Regions from separate parts of the Homo sapiens genome. Here region 1 is linked to region 2. The links are contacts of gene promoters, found by promoter capture Hi-C in human tissues and cell types (Jung and others, 2019). All regions are on one chromosome and are shown on one strand. The core of a region is centred on a gene start or on the middle of the fragment in contact, and the rest is flanking DNA. Distances in the headings are between cores, read along the strand shown. Region 1 holds the start of ESRP2 (epithelial splicing regulatory protein 2). Region 2 holds the start of CES2 (carboxylesterase 2).

What was found. The method cuts DNA at HindIII sites, captures the fragments that hold promoters and counts their contacts. A contact is called where the count stands out against the background at its distance.
Region 1: the fragment with the promoter of ESRP2 here is called in contact with the fragment with the promoter of CES2 in region 2 in 1 of the 25 tissues and cell types used here (spleen).

The regions. Positions count from the first base shown.
Region 1 is chr16:68,234,580-68,237,575 of GRCh38, reverse strand. ESRP2 (epithelial splicing regulatory protein 2) reads left to right here and starts at 1,449. Exons shown (of 15, transcript NM_024939.3): 1 at 1,449-1,728; 2 at 1,814-1,942. The coding sequence starts at 1,531. RefSeq lists enhancers at 1-73, 74-661, 662-1,250 and a silencer at 1,272-1,501. The HindIII fragment of the contact is 21,026 bases long and covers 1-2,996 here.
Region 2 is chr16:66,933,942-66,936,945 of GRCh38, reverse strand. It overlaps CES2 (carboxylesterase 2), which reads right to left and starts at 1,430. Exons shown (of 12, transcript NM_001365405.1): 1 at 1,235-1,430. The coding sequence starts at 1,310. CIAO2B (cytosolic iron-sulfur assembly component 2B) reads left to right here and starts at 2,544. Exons shown (of 5, transcript NM_016062.4): 1 at 2,544-2,723; 2 at 2,880-2,959. The coding sequence starts at 2,582. RefSeq lists enhancers at 1,208-1,820, 2,659-2,858, 2,889-2,938. The HindIII fragment of the contact is 13,939 bases long and covers 1-3,004 here.

The DNA of each region.
Region 1 (2,996 bases), core at 200-2,699, 1.3 Mb before region 2:
CGCCTCCACCTGTAGGGAAAGTAAAGTGCTACTCGCTCGAACCCGCCGGGCGAAGGAAGCACTTCCCATGCTCTCCCTGTCGCCGTGTCCGGGCGCGAGTCATTTCCGTCCCGGGCGCCTGTTTCTTTAGCTGCCAAGTGGAGCTACGCTGAGCTCTCTCCCCCCGGGCCTCGCCCCTTTCCCGGGCATGAGCTCTGGTGATGCGCCCGGGTGCCCCGCTCTCTCCATTGTCCAGGGGCCGGGCCGCAGCACCCTCCTTGTCCGAAAGCGCGTGGTGCGGCTCCCGTCTCAGTCTCGAGTCGGGCTAGGCAACCGCGTGACTCAGTTCCCGCCACGCTGGAGCCCCCTCCTTCCTGCTGGATTATTCAGTTTCTCAGTCACTTATTCAGTTTCTCAGTCACCTCCCTGGGAGAGTTTGGGAAAGTAAGGAACGGCCGGGAAACGCGCCATAAAGGAGCCTCACCAAGCTCCACTGGGCAAAGGGAGGAATGGGAGCCCCAAATGCGGGGCTGTCAATTGGGTTGTAGGTGCGGGATGGAAAAGGGAGGATCTGCAGCCCGCATGCGCGCACACACGCTCAACGCTAGCCCCCCATCGGCCAGAGCGCTCGCAATCTCCAGGCAGCTTCTCCACCGTCCAGAAAGGGACGAAAGCAGGCAGGCCCCCACACGTGGGGTAGGAGTGAGGCTCCAGGCCCGTTCTACCCCTCTCAGCCTCGTCTAGGGTGCAGCTCTCTGCGATTTGGGGGGTTCCTTTCCCCAGCATTGAGGCCTGCCCACTCCCAACCCACAACGACCGCGCTCTGGCACTTCTCAGTGCCAGGCTAGCGCTCGGCCCTAGCATCTGCGTGGACAAGCCCTTCCCTGTGATCCCTGGTGACCACCCCACAGCTCTAACAACGCTGATGTTCCCGCCGCCCTCCCCTTTCCCAGGTGACTTCTGGTGATCCCCCTACAGGGTGATACCCGGCAACTCTCACCGCCCCCTTGACCCTTTGACTTCCATCAACCCCAGACCTGCCGTGTTGACCCCCACAGCCCCTAGACTGCCTCCTGGTGACTTCCATACTGGAGAAGGCCTCTGTCTTGCACGCTCCTTTGCAGAGGCCTGACGACCCCTGGGGAAGAGTGGGGGGAGAGCGGAAGAATGGGTTAGCCCCCAAAATCAGGCAGGACCAGCCCTGGAAGTAGGAATCCGGATCCTAAGCGTGCGCCCAGGCCGGGAGCGTGAGCTCTTGCGTCCTGGGTTGAGTTCTGGCGGCCCTCCCCCAAGGTTCCCGGAGCCGCCCCGGTCACGTGGCCGGCGGGGCCGGCAGGTAACTCGCCTGGAGAGGGCGTGGGCCGGTAGCCGCCCCGCCCCGCGGGGCGCCACGGGCGGGTCTTGGCAGCGCCCACTGAGCCAGCCGGGCCGCAGGTGCCGCCCCCGATACACGGTGTCCCGCCCAAGCTGATCCGCGTCTGCGGTCGGTCGGTGCGTGCGTGCGCCTCGTCGGTCCGCGTGTCTGGCCGAGAGCCCCCTTCCTCTGCGGCCATGACTCCGCCGCCGCCGCCGCCCCCTCCCCCGGGCCCTGACCCCGCGGCCGACCCCGCCGCGGACCCCTGCCCCTGGCCCGGATCACTGGTCGTCCTCTTCGGGGCTACGGCGGGTGCGCTGGGACGGGACCTGGGCTCGGACGAGACCGACTTAATCCTCCTAGTTTGGCAAGTGGTTGAGCCGCGGAGCCGCCAGGTAGGGTGGAAAAGAGGCGGTGAGGTCCCCAGGGAGCTTCCGGGGTCGAGGGGCGCGGCTGATCGGTTTCCCCCGCCGCTCACAGGTGGGGACGCTGCACAAATCGCTGGTTCGTGCCGAGGCGGCCGCACTGAGTACGCAGTGCCGCGAGGCGAGCGGCCTGAGCGCCGACAGCCTGGCGCGGGCAGAGCCGCTGGACAAGGTGCTGCAGCAGGTGAGCGCCGGGGTGGGTGGCGGCATGGCCTGGACGTGAGGACATTTCTGGGCGGGATTGGCGGCCGGAGGCTAGGCCTGGCGTGCCGCAACCAACCGGTCCAGGCGGCAGGACTGGGCTCTTGTTTGAAACTTTGAGCGACTCTCGCGTGTGCGTGCCCCTTTCATCCGCGCGTGCCAGCCATTCCCCTGGGCTCCTTACTTTTCAACCATTGCAGGAACCTACTCCTACCGAAGGGATCGGGACGCAGGCTTTGGGATCCATCCCCAGTTCCCGCCCGGGGAGCGAGGCCGAGACGCCTTTGGGAGACCTGCTGGGTCAGGTCTCCCTGAGCCGCAGCCGGAAGCGAAAGGGGTCGAGGGGCCCATATAGGTCACCTGTCCTTGCGGCCCGCGTCTTCGGCCTGCTTGGGAGCTGCTGGAGCGGAGGCGTAGGGCGGTGTCGGCCCTAGAGGTAGACGCCGCCAGGTGTAAACTGCTCGTCTAGGCCTGTCCCGGCCGGCTGGCCAGGCGTGGGCGCTGTCCCGGCCTGGCCTGGGGGACTATCTGCCTGCTGAGTGCAAAGGCCTGGGGTGCCTCCTGCCCTAGCTGAAGTGGGAGGTGGTTTCCATTGCTGTTTTCTTTTCCTTATCTTCACTACGGCGCTCATTCTATGTCTGACTCTTGAGTGTAATTAGTGTAAGTCCTTTTTATACACTCACGTTCTTTCATCTTCCAACAACTCTTGTGGTTCCTGATGAGGAGGCACCACGATGATGATTCCTTGTCTGTTCCAGAAGGGCTCCCGGCCCTTCACTTGGGGAGTTTGCTGGAGGAGAGCTGGGTTGCCTTGCTCTGTCAGCCCCAAGTTGTAAAGTGTCACAGAATTGGCAGGGAGGGTTCGTGGGTCACTGATTAGTGTTTATACTTCTCCAGCAAGGATGGAGGCTGGGGGAGGGCTGGGCAGCCTCAGGAGTGCCACCCCCTCTATGAGCAAACAGCTCAGTGCCAGCCGGTCAATAGGATGTGGGTCAAAGCTCATGCTGCCCCTGATGTCCAAGTGTGGAGCTCTGTCC
Region 2 (3,004 bases), core at 181-2,680:
CCTCTCAAAGTGCTGGGATAACAGGTGTGAGCCACTGTGCCTGGCCCAAAATATTTTAAAAGGTAGCCATCTGTGAGGCCAGGCAGATCTTCCTGCTGGGCTCCTGGTGAACTCTAGAATGTGGTCAAGGGCAGGCACGGGAGGAAGCCCTGCAGCAGTGCACCATGGGGCGGGGGGAGTATGGACTCCACCTGCGCAAATTAAATTGGGGAAGGGTTGGAAGAGACAGATCATACACTTAGGAGAGTTTCGGGTGAGAGGACCAAAGGCCGAAACACTCCCCCAGCTTCTGATAAGGGCCTGGAGAAGCCTGGCAGGCACACAGAGCCTTCACCTTTGCCCTGGAAGCCAAGTTGTGCCCTTGCCCAGGATGAGGTAAATGGCATGAGGGACACCACGAGCTCTTTGGTTCTTGTTTCTGGAGACAGATTTTTGCTTTTTCACCCAGGCTGGAGTGCAGTAGTGGGATGAAGGCTCACTGCAGCCTCAACCTCCCCTACTAAAGTGATCTCCCACCTCAGCCTCCCAAGTAGCTGGGACTACAGGTCACAGACCACCACAGCCCACTAATTTCTTTCAATTTTTTGTACACTCCGAGTCTCACTATGTTGTCCAGGCTGGCCTCCAACTCCTGGGCACAAGCGATACTCTCCCTTGGCCTTCTAAAGTGGTGGGATTAAAGGAGTGAGCCAATCGCACCCAGCCACTGTGGCCTCTTAGATCTGCTTTAGGATTTGGCGCCTGGGGGCTTCTGTTCCCCAAGGACCACTATCCTTGTCTGAGGCCCCTTTGGAGGGCTCAGGGCATCCCCCCTGGCCAAGGACGCCACACACTGAGAGCCAGATGCTGCCAGAAGCTATTACTGTTATTACCGGCCGGCAGCACCCGCTACAGCCACAATCATAAGAGGGAAATGGACTGAATCCCCACACCCCAATCCCTCACCCACTCCGACCCCAGGCTGCCTACCCGGCCTGGCATGTCCCGGCGCTCCTGGGGCCCCTGTACTCCGCTGGTTCCTTGCCGTGGTGTCCCCCAGCCCGACCCTTTCTGTGCTTCTAGGAGCCCACCTTGGGCGGCGGGGAGGCGTTGCGTGGGGCTCACGAGTTCCACGCTGTCATCTCCACCAGCTCCTACCTCCCAGGCGCCTGCCCTCCCGCACTGTCAGGTTCTGCCTCCGCAGCATTTGGCAGATCTGAGCCCGGTCCCTGTCGCCCCTCCGAGGGAGCCTCACCCTGGCCCCGGACAAGAAGCAGCAGAAGCCCACAGGCCACCGCGCTCAGCCGCGCACGAAGTCTGTGCAGCCGCATGGTCGGCTCGCTGGTCTCGGTTCGCTGCCGGCGGACACGCTGCTGTTCACCCAGAGGCTGCCCCGGGTCTGTCCAGCAGTGGATCAGTGCCTTGCCCAGCCTTGGAGTTTGGACTGGGCAGGGAGTCAGCGGGGTGCGCTGGCTTGGGCCGGGAAAGGTGGGTGTGGTAGGAGAGCGGGACTGAGCAGTCATAGGTGGGTGGGGATCTAGTGGTAGGCAGGCCCGGGCACGGCCACTTTCCTTTGCCCGGGCTCCTTTGGCATCCTCGGAAGGGGCTGTGCCATTCCTGCAGCCCTTCCGCGATCCAGGGAATCCTCTCTTCAAACCTGTCCTTGTCCACAGGCCCGATGAGCGCGCTGGGGGATCGATAGGAGGGGGCAATAAACTAGAATTGGAGACCCCAGGAGGGCTTCTCTGAGGATGTGCACGTTCAGGATCCCCCAGATGGAGAAATGGGAAGGAACTTGATCGGGGTGAAGGAACCGCTTGAGCAAAGGCAGGAAGGAGTGTCGGCGCCCTTCATTCTGGAAGTTCCTCCTTGCTTTCAGGACTCAGTTTCCTGGGTTCCCCTTCACGGCCCCTCATCTCCTTACAGTCCAGGGTCTGAGGGTCTCCGCGGTCCCCTCCCTACTCAGTCACGCCATTCTTTTGAAACGTACACGTGACCGCGGCACTTCTTAAGGAGCGCCCCCCTTTTCCTCGGTGGCTTTCAGTTTCCTCACCTCCCGCGGAGACCACGGCCATGGTCATTTATCCACTTGACAAACATTTCACGAGCCCCTGCCGGTCCAAGCTGTGGGGACGCCGTACTCCCGGGCCTATGGTGCAGCAGGGGAGGCAGGCGCGTCACCGGGAGGTCCCGAGACACTAGGATCCCTGCCAGGCCAGAGGCGACCAACCGTCCTGGATACGGGAGCTCCCGGCCAGCCTGACTTCCAGGAGGAAGCGGTGTGGGGATTACCTCCGACCGCCTTTAGTGCCCCCTGAGACCTGGTTCTGGCCTCTACGTTTCAGCCCGCTACTGGCTCGCACGACCCAGCGCCGCCGTGGTCCCTTCTCAGCGCCTTCTGCTCCAGCGACCATCATGTTCCCGGGTCCGAGCAGCCAGGGCCGCGGTCACCGCTTCTCTCGCACCTCAGGCCGAGAACCCACAACGCGGCGTGTCCCTCGCGCGACTCCGTCGCCACGCCACGCCCCCTTCCCGTTCTCCGGAAGTGCGCGGGTTGGAGCGGAAGCGCACGCCTGCTAGGATCAGCGGTGGTGGTTCCGCGATGGTAGGCGGCGGCGGGGTCGGCGGCGGCCTCCTGGAGAATGCCAACCCCCTCATCTACCAGCGCTCTGGGGAGCGGCCTGTGACGGCAGGCGAGGAGGACGAGCAGGTTCCCGACAGCATCGACGCACGCGAGATCTTCGATATCCGCCGCTGCTGGGCGCGGGCGGGTTCCGGGGGCTTGCGGTGGGGGGAGCAGTGATATCGAGCAGCTGGTGGAGCCGCATCCCAGCAGGGCGTTCCTGGCAGAGGGTTCTAAGTGGGCAAGGGCGCAGAGTCCCTTTTCCTTCACTTCCCACATCTGATTCGCTCCATCAATGACCCGGAGCATCCACTGACGCTAGAGGAGTTGAACGTAGTAGAGCAGGTGCGGGTTCAGGTGAGTCACTTCCGAGGGGAGCGAGTTGTTCCAGAGAGTCAGAAA